Linked DNA regions of Homo sapiens: regions 1 and 3 are each linked to region 2. The links are contacts of gene promoters, found by promoter capture Hi-C in human tissues and cell types (Jung and others, 2019). All regions are on one chromosome and are shown on one strand. The core of a region is centred on a gene start or on the middle of the fragment in contact, and the rest is flanking DNA. Distances in the headings are between cores, read along the strand shown.

What was found. Contacts are between HindIII fragments. The study calls those that stand out against the background at their distance.
Region 1: a fragment that was not itself captured here is called in contact with the fragment with the promoter of PCDH17 in region 2 in 1 of the 25 tissues and cell types used here (dorsolateral prefrontal cortex).
Region 3: a fragment that was not itself captured here is called in contact with the fragment with the promoter of PCDH17 in region 2 in 1 of the 25 tissues and cell types used here (dorsolateral prefrontal cortex).

The regions. Positions count from the first base shown.
Region 1 is chr13:57,847,302-57,851,924 of GRCh38, reverse strand. No RefSeq gene overlaps it. Among named protein-coding and RNA genes, the nearest start is that of PCDH17, 220 kb to the right of the region's middle. The HindIII fragment of the contact is 3,298 bases long and covers 515-3,812 here.
Region 2 is chr13:57,630,423-57,634,563 of GRCh38, reverse strand. It overlaps PCDH17 (protocadherin 17), which reads right to left and starts at 2,820. Exons shown (of 4, transcript NM_001040429.3): 1 at 1-2,820. The coding sequence starts at 2,017. RefSeq lists an enhancer at 1,634-2,313. The HindIII fragment of the contact is 5,195 bases long and covers 1,702-4,141 here.
Region 3 is chr13:57,863,747-57,867,984 of GRCh38, reverse strand. No RefSeq gene overlaps it. Among named protein-coding and RNA genes, the nearest start is that of PCDH17, 230 kb to the right of the region's middle. The HindIII fragment of the contact is 4,790 bases long and covers 1-4,238 here.

The DNA of each region.
Region 1 (4,623 bases), core at 914-3,413, 220 kb before region 2:
TTTATTTTCTTAGTAGTTATTTGGTGCTTGAATTCTCTAGAAGTGGAAGATGAATGTTGTTGCAAAGAAGCTTTGAGAAGTCCTCTGACAATAGAAGGTGGTCCAAGGTTGGATTTGCATTATATTTTATACAGAAGTGACTTTGCATAAAAAAGAAGCTGACCACTTGGAATAAGAGCCACTGGATGGTGGCTATAGAGACTTTAGACAAAACAGAAATATCTATTGGGGATTAATTAAATAACTATCTTTGTAGTAAGCAATGTTCTGCTCCTAAGATATTTTTAGTAAGTTCTGCCGGCTTACTTACTGATATTTTATGGTGAATATGAAGAAGCACTGTTTTTTCTAAGTGAAGTCAAAGTGAGAACTCTGAACTTTTTTCAACTTTTTCTATCTCTATGAGTGTAAAAAAGAAGAATGAAACTGGGCAAAAATTGCTGAATATGTATATTGCAGCAGTTTACAGGCATACCTCATTTTATTGTACTTCCCTTTATTCCACTTCAAAGATACTGAATTTTTTATGAATTGAAGATTTCTGGCAACTCTGTGTAGAGCAAGCCTGTCTGCACCATTTTTCCAACAGCATATGCTCACTTTGTAGTCTCTGTGTCCCATTTTGGTAATTCTCATAATACTTTAAACTTTTTCATTAATATTTATTATGGTAACCTATGATGGGTGAGCTTGGATGTTGCTACTGTAATTGTTTGGGTGCTCCATGAACCTCACCTCTATAAGACAGCAAAATTAATCAATAAATGTTATGTGTGTTCTGACTGTTCCACCGACTGGCTGCTTCCCATCTTTCTCTCTCTCTCTTTGGGCCTCCCTATTCCATGAGTCACAGGAATATTAAAATAAGGCCAATTAATATGCCTATGATGGCCTCTAAGTGGTCAAGTGCAAGGAAGAATTGCACATCTTTCATTTTAAATCAAAAACTAGATTAAGCTTGCTGAGGAAGTCATGACTCAAGCTGAGATAGGCTGAAAGCTAGGACTCTTGCACCAATCAGTTAGCCAAGTTGTGAATGCAAAGTTCTTAAAGGAAATTAAAAGTACTAGTCCAGTGAATATAAGAACGATGAGAAAGTGAAACAGCCTTATTGCTGATATAGAAAGCTCTAATTGTCTGGATAGATCAAACTGGCCACAATATTCCCTTAAATCAAAGCGTAATTCAAAGTGAGGCCTTAACTCTTTAATTTTATGAAGACTGAGAGAGGTGTGGAAGCTGCGAGAGAAAAATGTGAAGCTAGCAGAAGTTGGTCCATAAGGTTTAGGGAAAGAACTTGTACCATAACATTAAAGTGCAAGGTGAGGCAGCTAGTGCTAATATAGAAGTTGCAGAATAGTGTCCAGAAGATCTACTTAAGATAACTGATGAAGGTGGCTACACTAAACAACAAATTTTTCAATGTAGATAAAACAGCATTGTATTGGAAGAAGATACCATCTAGGACCTTGATAGCTAGAGATAATATTTCAAAGCTTCAAGGGACAGGTTGACTCTCTTGTTGTCCCTAATGCACCTGGTGACTTTCAATTAAAGCTAATGCTGACTTACCATTCCAAAAATTCTAGGACCCTTAAGAATTATAATAAATCTACTCTTCCTGTAATCTATAAATGGAACAACAAAACCAGGATGACAGCTATCTGTTTATAGCATGGTTTACTGAGTGTTACAAGCCTGCTGTTGGGACCTACTTCTCAGAAAAAAATATTATTTGAAAACGTTAATGCTCATTGAAGATTCACCATATCACTGAAGACCTCTGATGGAGATGTACAAAGATACATCCTGCTAACATAACATCCATTCTGCAGCCCATGGATCAAGGAGTAATTTCAAGTCTTATTATTTAAGAACTACATTTTGTAAGGCTATAGCTGACATGGATAGTGATTCCTCTGATAAATCTGGGCAAGGTAAGTTGAAAACCTTTTCAAAAGGATTCACTATTTTTGATCATTAAGAATATCTATAATTCATGAGAAGAGGTCAAAATATCCATATTAACAGAGATTTGGAAGAAGTTTACTCTAGCTCTTGTGGATGACTTTGAGAGGTTCAAGACTTTATTGAAGTAAGTAACTGTAGATGTGGTAGAAATAGCAAGAGAACTATTAATAGAGCTAGAAGTGGATGGAGCTTGAAGTTGTGACTGAATTACTGCAATCTCATGATACAACTTTAATGGAGGAGAACTTACTTCTTATGGATAGGCAAAGACAGTGTTTTTTTGAGATGTAGTCTACTCTTGGTGAAGATGCTGGGAACATTGTTGAAATGGCAACAAAGAATGGAGAATATTATATAAATTTAGCTCATAAAGCAGCAGCAGGATTTGAAAGAATTGAGTCTTAATTTGAAAGAAGCTTTACTGTGGGTGAAATGCTATCAAAGAGCATTGCATCCTACAGAGATATCTTTTGTGAAAGGAAGAGTCAATTGATACAGCAAACTTCACTGTTGCCTTAGTTTATGAAATTGCCACAGCCAACCCAATATACACCACTCACCACCCTTATCAGTCAGCAGCCTCAATTTAAAGGCAAGACCCTCCACCAGCAAAAAGACTAGGACTGAGTGAAGGTTCAGAAGATCACTAGCATATTTTAGCAATAAAGTATTTTTAATTAAGGTATGTACATTGTTTTTAGATAATGCTATTGCACACTTAATAGACAATAGTAGAGTGTAAACATAACTTTTTTATTTATGGGGAAACAAAAAAAATTGTGTGAATTATTTTATTGTGTTGGACTAGAAATGAAGCCACACTATCTCTGAGGTGTGCAGGTAGCACTTTTAATTTTCTAGGACATATAACTAAAGGAAAAAAACATTTTATGGATTTTTGGCCAGATTTGGGACAGACTTCCTCATCCTGGGTAAAATTTCTGCAGCACAGTAGCAATAATTTGAGTATGTCAGCAGTACTAGTAGCCTAAATGCTCAAAAGTTTGCCAAAAAGGAGAATAATTAATAAATTGAAAAAGTAACAGCCTAAGCAAGCCCAGAGTTCTCCAATTTGATACATACATATACCCCCAAAAAATTACAATATTAGGTATTAGCTACCTTTTATTTGGCACTTACCCTGTTATATCCACAACACTAAACATTGCACACATGTTCCTTAATCCTTATAAAAATCGCACAATGTTATTTTTCCTGCTTTACACATAAGATAACTGAACATGAAATAAACCAAATATCATACAAGACCAAATATCATACAAGTGGCAATGTAGGAATTCTAATAAAAATTCCTTCTAACAGGCTTATTGGATTTTGATAGTTATGTTTGTAATCCCCACAAGTTAACTACCAATTGGTAGTGATTGGGTAAGCTCCCCTAGGGTTCTTTCAGAAATGACATAGAGTAGAGCACAATTTTACTGATAAATATAACAAATTCAGGAAGATGGCCTCTTCAATAAAGAAAAAATAAACATTTTTTTTGAAAAAAATTAGCAAATGTAATAGCTTTTCTTCCTTCAATTACCTAAAAATATGTTTGCATATATTTTGACGTGTCTCAAAACATTGTATTACAGTAATCATGTGTGTTTTCTTTGTGACTCTTTATTCCTTATTTCCCTTCCCTTAGTTGCTTAGGTAAGCCAAGACTGTTGAAAGGCTGGAAGAATAAATTTGATGGCCTTGGTTTCCTAGTATTCTCCATTTTTTAAATTACAAAATATAAACTTGTGTGAAGCCAAGAGAAACTTTCATTTGAATTCCCCAGTAATTATTTCAACTGAAAATTTTATCATAATAGCTTTACTAGATTTAACACAAATTTATGTGTGATTTACTTTGTAAAAGCTGGAAAATATTGGCCACTATGCTTAAAATGGTTTTTTAAAATGTAGGTAAGATTGATTGAGGGTGTACAACTGATCATTGACAAAAACAGCTAATAAAGGAAGGATTATCAGAAAAAGTCTAGAACATAAGCTACACAAGAGTATGTTCTTATTACAGCAGATACCACCAGTTTGCAAAGCATTTCACACATAAAAACCAGTTCAGTCAAGCTCAGACATCACCACTGCCTCAGAAGGGAAGGGATAGCCTTTTTGATATTGATTCAATTGTGCCCACTTACTGCAATCAGTGGTTAGTGAAATTCCAAATACTCAAATCTAGTCCTTTAGAACCAGTGCTATTAAGTCATAATCTAAATTATAACTTCTGTGGTGATTGCTTCACACTTTGATTACAGGTTGCACTATGAGAAGACAGTGATACAGGTGTTAAATGATTATTCTAATGGACTCTCCATGAAGCGTTTGGCATAATGGGGCAGATGTGGTCCAGAATATCTTAGAATTTCTTCTGTATTTTCAAATAATGCCAGGAAATGCATTTTTAAAGTTTTTTTAATTCCTTTGTGGGATAAGTAATCTCTTCAGTTATGCATTTTTGTTACTGTAGATTTCAGAGTAATTTTATCAAAGCAAGTGTAGCATCCATCTTCATAATTAAAATTACTAAAAAAAATTGTATCTAGAATGCATCACACCTTAGAAGCAAGGTGAAACAGTCAAAAACATATTCACTTCCCAAGGCAATTATTTTCTCCAAATGTAATTGACCATTTAT
Region 2 (4,141 bases), core at 1,571-4,070:
GGGTAGGCTTGCCGTGGTCGGTCACCTTCACCACCAGCTCCACCACGGGCGTCACGTCCTCCCAGAAAGGGTGCAGCGTGCGGATCTCGCCGCTGGACGGGTCGATCTCAAACAGGTGGTCGTCGTTGCCGTCCACGATCTCGTAGGTGAGACGCCCGCTCTCGCCGAAGTCGCTGTCTAGGGCGCGCACAGTGCTCACCAGATAGCCCAGGCCAGCGTTGCGCGGCACCTGCAGCTCCGCGGTGTCGTTCTGCAGCGTGGGGAGCACGATCACTGGCGCGTTGTCATTCACGTCTAGCACTGTCACCCTCACCGTGGCGTTGCTCTCCAAGTGCGCGGGCGCCCCCGAGTCCTTAGCAAGCACCTTGAACTCAAAAGCCTTGGTCTGCTCGAAGTTAAAGGAGCGCAGGGCGTAGATGGCCCCGTTCGTGGGATTCACAGACACATAGGTGTAGATAGACACGTCGCCGATGTGCGAGGGCAGGATAGAGTAGGATACGGTGCCGTTCTGGCCCAGGTCGGGATCCTGGGCGAGCACAGAGCCCAGGTACTCTCCCGGGATGTTGTTCTCGTGCACCTGAAGCACGTAGAGCCCTTTGGTGAACCGAGGCGGGTTGTCGTTCTCGTCTAGAATCTTGATCGCGAACGACTTGGTGGAGTTGAGGGGAGGAGAGCCCCCGTCCCGCGCCACGATGGTCACGTTGTACTCGTCTTGTGTCTCGCGGTCCAGCGGGCGGTCAGTCACCACCGTGTAGAAGTTGTCGTAGTTCTCCTCAAGCTTGAAGGGGACGGAACCCCCGGGCCCGCCCAGGCCCCCGCCGCCGCCCGTCCCTCCTCCGCCTAGGACCCGACACTGCAGCTGTCCGTTCTTGCCAGAGTCCCGGTCAGTGACCCGCACCAGGGCGATGACGGTGCCGGGAGGGGCGGCCTCGCTCAGCGCCCCCTGGCGCACGGAGACGAAACCGATGGACGGCGCATTGTCGTTGCGGTCGATGAGCTTGACCGTGACTTTGCAGTGGGCTGGGATAGGGTTAGGCCCCAGGTCTCGGGCCTGCACGTCAATCTCCAGCATCCCGTTTTCCTCATAGTCCAGATTGCCCTTCACACGGATTAGGCCGGTCTTGGGGTCGATGGAGAAGAGCTCCCGCACGCGGTCAGGCACGTAGCTGCTGAAAGAGTAGAGCACTTCACCATTGGGACCTTCATCGGCGTCGGTGGCGTTCAGATCGATGACCACTGTACCCAGCGGAGCGTTCTCGGGCAGTTCCACCAAGTAGGATGGCGCCTCGAAGACCGGGCTGTTGTCGTTGGAGTCAATCACCTTCACGTTGATCTGTACGGTGGCGGAACGTGGAGGCTCGCCACCGTCCAGGGCAGTCAGCACGAGCGTATGGTGATTCTGTTGCTCGCGGTCCAGAGCCTTCTGGATGACCAGTTCTGGGAACTTGGTGCCGTCGCCGCGGGACTTAACGTCCAGTCCAAAGAGGCCGTGATCGTCGCGCGTGAGCAGGTAGGTGCGGAGCCCATTCTCGCCGGCGTCGGGGTCATGTGCGCTGGTGAGGGGGAAGCGGGTGCCCGGAGCAGCGTTCTCCGAGATGTCCATTTCGATCTGGTCCGAGGAGAAGGAGGGCGCGTTGTCGTTGATGTCCTGGATCTCTACCTTGATCATGCAGATCTCCTTGTCGTTGGCGAACACCTCGAGGGACAGCTGGCACTTGGCATTGTGGCGGCACAGGGACTCGCGGTCGATGCGCTGCTTGGTGTAGAGGAGCCCGCTGTCTGCGTCCACGTCCAGCAGGTGCGGTGCGGAGTTCTCCAGCACCCGGTAGCTACCCGACTTGCTGCGCCCTCCGCCGCCGCGCTCTGCAGGCGGAAGCCCAGGCTGCAGTCGAGCATCCCTGCCGATGTTCCCGATCACCGTGCCGGCCCCTTGCTCCTCCGGCACGGAGTAGTTGAGGTTCTTGAGAGTGAGGGCAGGGGCCCATAGAAGAAAGCAGCAACAGATGGAAAGGTACATCCCAGACCTGTAAGGTGGGGGCAGGAGCAATCGGACTGGAGGAGCCAGAGAGGGAGTGCGCGCCAGCCTGGGGCCCTGGCGCAGCGTGCGCGCGCGACGCGAGCCACAAGTCTATGGGTCCTTTTTTCCCTCTGCACCCGAGCTGCGGCACCCGGTGGTCTCTCCTTATTCTGCTCAAGTTCCCTGAACCTGTTGATCTACAGCATCCGCACTGGGTGAGAAGCTGCGGTGCAGCAGAGCTGCAGGGGCTTGGAGCAAGGCGGTGGCTTCCTGCGGCTGGGGGTGAGCCAGGGGTTTCGTCTCTCCCGCCCGGACTTCGGGAGGCTCAAACTTGAGCGATGAGGCAGGCGATAAGAAGGAAATCTCGTCTGGGAGAGATGATAATGAGCTAAAGAATCAGTAGGTTTTCCTCGCTCCCGCTAGGGTGCTGCAAATCTACTCCCGCCCGGAGACTCCGGAATACTCTTCACATCGAGTGGGGGAGGGAGCAGGGAGGTGTGTCTCTAGGCAGATCCGAAAGTGAAATTCTTACTTGCTGCTCGCCTCCCGTGATGAAATTGATGGGGATGAAGAGCAACGAAGACAGAGTCACAGATATATTTTGAAGCTTCCCCAGCGCACCGTGAAATGTCTGCTTGCTGCGCGGGCCGGTCTGTTTTCAGGCAGTGTTTTGCTGCATTTAGAGATCTAATCTTGCATTGCTGGCTGAGGCAGCGGCGGCGGCGGACTGCATCTACCAGCCAAGCGTATTTTTTTTTTCCTCTCTCTCCTTTCCGAGCAGCCAAAGGGAGGGGAGGAAATGCAGCGTAAAGAACTAGTGTCCCGATTTGTAGTTTCCTCTCCCCACCAGGCTCCTCCCTCTCTTCCTCGGAAAAGGCTCTCCCCCGAAATCAAGAAAGCCACAGCCTGATCAGCATTTGCTGTGTGAGTCTATTGGGAGGGGGGAAGTAGAGAGATAAATCTTCGCCTCTGTTCGTAGAACACACTCTCTGATTTCTCTACGCCAAGCCAGTAGCCTCCGCTACCATCCCATCCTCTCCCCGCGAGCAAGGACTTCTCTCCAAGCAGTTTAATTCCAGTTTGCTTTTCTTCCCAGGCGAAGGGAAATCAACAGGCAACTCATGGTTGGACGTGCACATTTAAAGGAGGAGGGGGGAGGCCGAATAAAAAGGAAGGGGGAGCCTCCCTCCCAGTCCTTGCACACACACTCTCCCTGTCTCTCGCTAGAAGGGAAACAGTCTCTGCATTCACAGGGCTGGGCTGTCAAGTGCCTCTTTTCTTTCTATTCAGCATCTCCTTCCAATAGCCCTGCCTCCCAGTCCTCTTCATCTAGAAAAGAAAACCTTGGCGAGGAATAAAAGTGATGAATATTTGAAGCAAATAAAGTACGTGTTTTTTTTTTTCCTTCAATTTTCTCTTATAGTAGGAGGAGTGGGCTGGATGAAAGCAACACATCAAGGTTTGGCGTGATGCATTCTGCAGTCTCTCTTTCAGTTTTTCTGGGCGACTCAGGGAGGGCAGGGGGTGCAGAGCTGCGGCCGCGGCGGTCCAGCCAGGGGCTCCTACCCCGGGGAGCTCCCTCCGAGGGGATGTTAGACACAGGTCTGTCTACACATTATTTCGGGTTCTGGAGGCGCCTCGACATACGGGAATGACACATCCAGAAATGCAGGTGTTCCGATCTGCCGGATGAGTCAGAAGCAGCGGAACGAATCGTATTCACTCTCGCCTCATGGTCCTCCCTTCACAGACATTAGTTGCGGCTTCTTCCTAACGCTTTCTCTGACTCAGTCTATAGAAAGAAAAACCAGATTCATGTTTTTGGGGAAAAAGAAAATGCAAGAGAAAAGGATGGAGGGAAGAAGGTGAAGCTGAATCTAGCAGCACTTTTACTCTACCTCTTTCTGCCGGAGTCCGAGGTTCTGGAAAACAAGGCGTCTGCTTTGCTAGGTGTATTGGTTTATTTATTTTGTTTATTTTTTTTAAACCTTTCCTCTTGGTTAGGCGAGAGGTACCCCGAAATTTTTCAGAGTCTTGGAAAAGGAAAAACAAAATCAGGTTTCCAGTAATTGTTCCCAGCTTAGCCTCGCATCATAGTTCAAGATTTTCCTCTCAATTTTTTCT
Region 3 (4,238 bases), core at 887-3,386, 230 kb before region 2:
CTGTCACTGTCTCCCATTGTCCCCAGACGGGACCATCTACTTGCAGGAAAACATGCTCAGGGCTCCCATTGATTGTGCATTATAATGAGTTCTATAATTATTTCTGTATATTATAGTGTAATAATAATAGAAGTAAAGTTCACAATAAATGTAATATACTTGAATCATCCCAAAACCATCCACCCACCTCAGTCCATGAAAAAACTGTCTTCCACAAAACTAGTCCCTGATGCCAAAAAGGTTGGGTACCACTGCTTTATAGGATATGTGAACTATGTATTTAAGTGTGTTTCATGGTAGCTGGTATTGGTCTTTCATTTCCATGTTTAGAACTTCCTTAAGCATCTCTTATAATACAGGTCTAGTGGTAACAAATTCCCTTAGCACTTCCTTCTCTGGAAAATATTTTATTTCTCATTTGCTTATGGAGCTCAGTTGGTGGGACATGAAATTCTTGTATAGAATTTCTTTTTTTTTTAATTAAGAATCCTCAAAATAGTACCTCAATCTTTCCTGGCTTGCAAGATTTCTGCTAGAAGTTCACTGTTAGACTGATTGAGATCTCTTTGACCATGATCAGACTTTTCTCTCTAGCTGCCTTTAAGATTTTTTGTTCAGTGTTGACCTTAGACAGTTGGGTGACGATATGTCTTGGTGATGCTCATTTTGAATAGCAACTCACAGATGTTCTCTGGATTTCTTGTTTCTGGATGTCTACCTCTTTAGCAAGATCGGGAAAATTTTATTCATTATTTCCTCAAATATGTTTTCCAGATTGTTTACATTTTCTCCTTTTCTAACAGGAATGCCTGTTAGAAATTCTAGGTTTGGTCACTTTACATAAGGCCATATATCTTGAAGATTTATTCATTTTTTTAAATTCTTTTTTTCTTTATTTTTATCTGACTGAGTTAGTTCAAGAGACTGGTCTTCAAGCTCTGAAATTTTTTCTTCTGCTTGGTCAGTTATATTGATAAAGCTTTCAATTGTATTTTTAAATTCCTAGGCTGGGCACAGTGGTTAACATCTGTAATCCCAGTATTTGGGAGGCCAAGGCAGGCAGACAGATTGGGCTCACAAGTTGGAGACCAACCTGGGAAACATGACAAAACCCCATCTCCACAAAAAATACGAAAAAAATTAGCTGGGCATGGTGACACACACCTGTAGTCCCAGCTACTTGGGAGGCTGAGGTGGAAGGTTGGCTTGAATGCAGAAGGCAAAGGTTGCAGTGAGCCAAATCATGCCACGAAATTCCAGCCTGAGTGACAGAGCCAGACCCTGTCTCAAAAAGAGAAAGAAATTCCTTAAGTGAGCTTTCAAATTCCAGAAGCTCCAATTGTTTTCTTTTTGAGATGTTTATGTCTTCTTTATTTCCTGGATTGCTTTGGAAGTTTCTTTGTTTTGATTTTCAACCTTGTCTTGAATCTCATTGTGCTTACCTGCAGTCCATGCTTTGAATTCTTTATCTGTAATTTCTGAGTTTCCATTTTGTTTAAACACCATTGCTGGAGAACTAGTGAAATTTTGTGGTGACAATACATTCAGATTTCTCATGGTGTCAGAATTCTTATGCTGGTTCTGTCTTATCTTGAGATACTTGCACTTCTAATTTTATAATTATTTTTATGCAGTTAGGAGTTTTTAATTTTCTTTCATTTTCTATATTATTATTTTTTCTTTTCCTTGCTCTTCCTCCTACCCACCAGATGTTGTGGCTGTAGAGAATGCTGGGTAGGGTATTTTTGTTTTGCCTCTATTGAAGCAGGAAATATAAAAAGAAAAACAAGCAAAGGGAAAACAGCCTTGACCAGGCTGACTCACTCCAAAGTCCTGCTAGAGCTATGATAACATTATCTGCAAGGCCAGGCAGGGGACCCAAAGGAATAGACTCCAGGTACAAGGATGGGAAAAGCAAGTTCTCCTTATCAGTTTCCCCCTTTGGAAATCTCTCCCCATACTATCATTCTTTGCTCTGCTCTCATAACTACTTTTGTAACTGTTTCTGCAAGTTTGTAAAAGTTTTTATAAGTTCCTGTTTTTCTTTCTGTAGCATGGCAAAGTCACAAGACATGTTTAAGTGAGATAAGCTCATGTTGCAAAGCCTGTTGCAAAACCTGTCACAGTATGATTAACTGCCTTTGTTCTGCTTCTGTAAGCTCGCTTACCTGCCCTGCGGGTTTCGAGTCACTAGATGGCCAACCCTCTTTAGCTGTATGTACAAAAGTCAACCCCTGTCTTTGTTCAATGCCCAGCCTTTGGATATTAATCTGCTGAACCAGTGGCCACCTAAATAAAATCCTCCTGTTCCCCAACGCTTGTCTCTCCAGTCTCCTGATTTCTGCAACACTATAGCCCTATGCATGTCTTTTGGCAGGTTTATATTGGGCTGAGCAGTTAGACTTACAAGCCAGTAGCTAGTGCTTACAGATAAGAGCCAGCTGCACTGCAATGGTATATTCTAGATCCTTGTTTACAAGGAGAAGCTTTTGGTTGCTGCAGACAAGGGGCTGATCTGTGGAGTGCACAGTGGTCTGAGCTCCTTGCTCAGCCCTGGGTGAGGGAGTGGGGGCAAGGCTATAATGAGTGGGGCCAGACTGGGCAGATCCTCTCCACCTAGAGTTCATCAGGTGGCAAACGAGCACCAGCACTAAGGGAGAATCCAGTGGGTGGCCACCAGGTGCCCAAAGGTGTGCCTAGGCATGGAGCTTGAAAACCCCCATTGGCCCTAAATTATCTGCATGGGAATATGGGGTTGGCCTGAACTCCTAATCCAGAAGAGTAGTTGCTCAAGAGACCTGGAGATCTACCTAGGGATCAGAGAGGGGCCTCTGCCCCAAGATCTCTGCACAGGAGGGTAGGGTGACTCAGGCTGCTGAACCCAGCAAGCAGGTTCTCTGAATGCCTGGAAATCTGCCTGGGTGTGTAGCAGAGAGCCCCCCCACCACCCGCCCCACAGCAGAATCTCTACATAGGAAGGGTGGGGTGACTTGGGCTTCTGTTCCAGGCAAACGCCTGGGATCTTCCTGGGTGCAAAGCAGAGAGGACCTCCCTGTACCAGGATCTCTGCACAGGAAGGATGGAGCAGGTCAGGCTGCTGATCCAGTTGAGTAGGTGCTCTGAATGCCTGGAGATATGCCTGAGTATAGAGCAGAGAGAACCCCACTGTACTATGATCTATGCCCAGGAAGGTTAGAGCAGCTCTGGATGGTGATCTAGTCAAGCAAGTGCTCCAAATGTTTGGATGTCTGCCTGGGGATAGAGCAGAAAGGGTTCTGATGCACCACAATCTCAGAGGAGCAGGCTGGGACACGCAACAATGGCACACACCACACCAGCTGGTTCTGGGTCAGCAAGCTGGCCCCTTGCTCCTAGTCTTGGCACCCAGGAGAAACTGTAGCTGTAGCAGCTCTCCTCCCTCCCCACCTACTGCTGAGGCACTTTCCACAATTCTGGCTGTAGAGGCCCCTACCCCACTCCAGAGCAGGTGGTTCAATCTCTGGCTGGTGACTAAAATGCCTGAGTAGCCACATTGTTGGATCACCAAGAATGACTGACATTGCATGCACTCAAATTTAACAGGATGTCCTGCTCAGTCCCAGGTCAGGGAAAAACTCTTCAGCTTTTCCCCTTGTTTTTCCCTCACAGTATCTACAAGCCTCTCTTCAAGTTAGCTCCATGGTTTCGGAGAAACAAAGTGCTCTCCCCTGAGTTGCTTGGGTCCCCAGTGAAAAGGTGAGCACAGAGGGAGGCTCCCTGCCTCTCTCATGTACTGGGCTTCCACTCACTTTTATCAGCCAGACATTGTCATGGGGGCTGGGTGCTATTGCTCTACTCCCTGGGGTCTGGGGTATCCTTCACAATTCTGGTGGCTTCCCATTTTCCTTCTTGAATGAAAACTCAGGGTTCATCTTCATGCACTATTTTGCAATTTCCAGGTGGCTGAGGCACACTAAAAGCCTCTAATCCACCATCCTGTGAAAAAACTGGTTTTACAATAAGCTTTGACAAATGTTAAATATCATGATAGTATGTAGTTAAGTGGGATTTCAGTCAATACTTTATTTATTTGGATACTCGCAAGGTTTAGGAACATCTTGGAATGGGAAGAATTATTTTTATTTATCTTATATTGTTTTAGCAGAGACCCTAAACAAGCAAATGATCTGCATCATTTTACTGAACATGTCACATTATAACAGCAGATTAATTCACAGCTGACAATAAACACTCAGGGC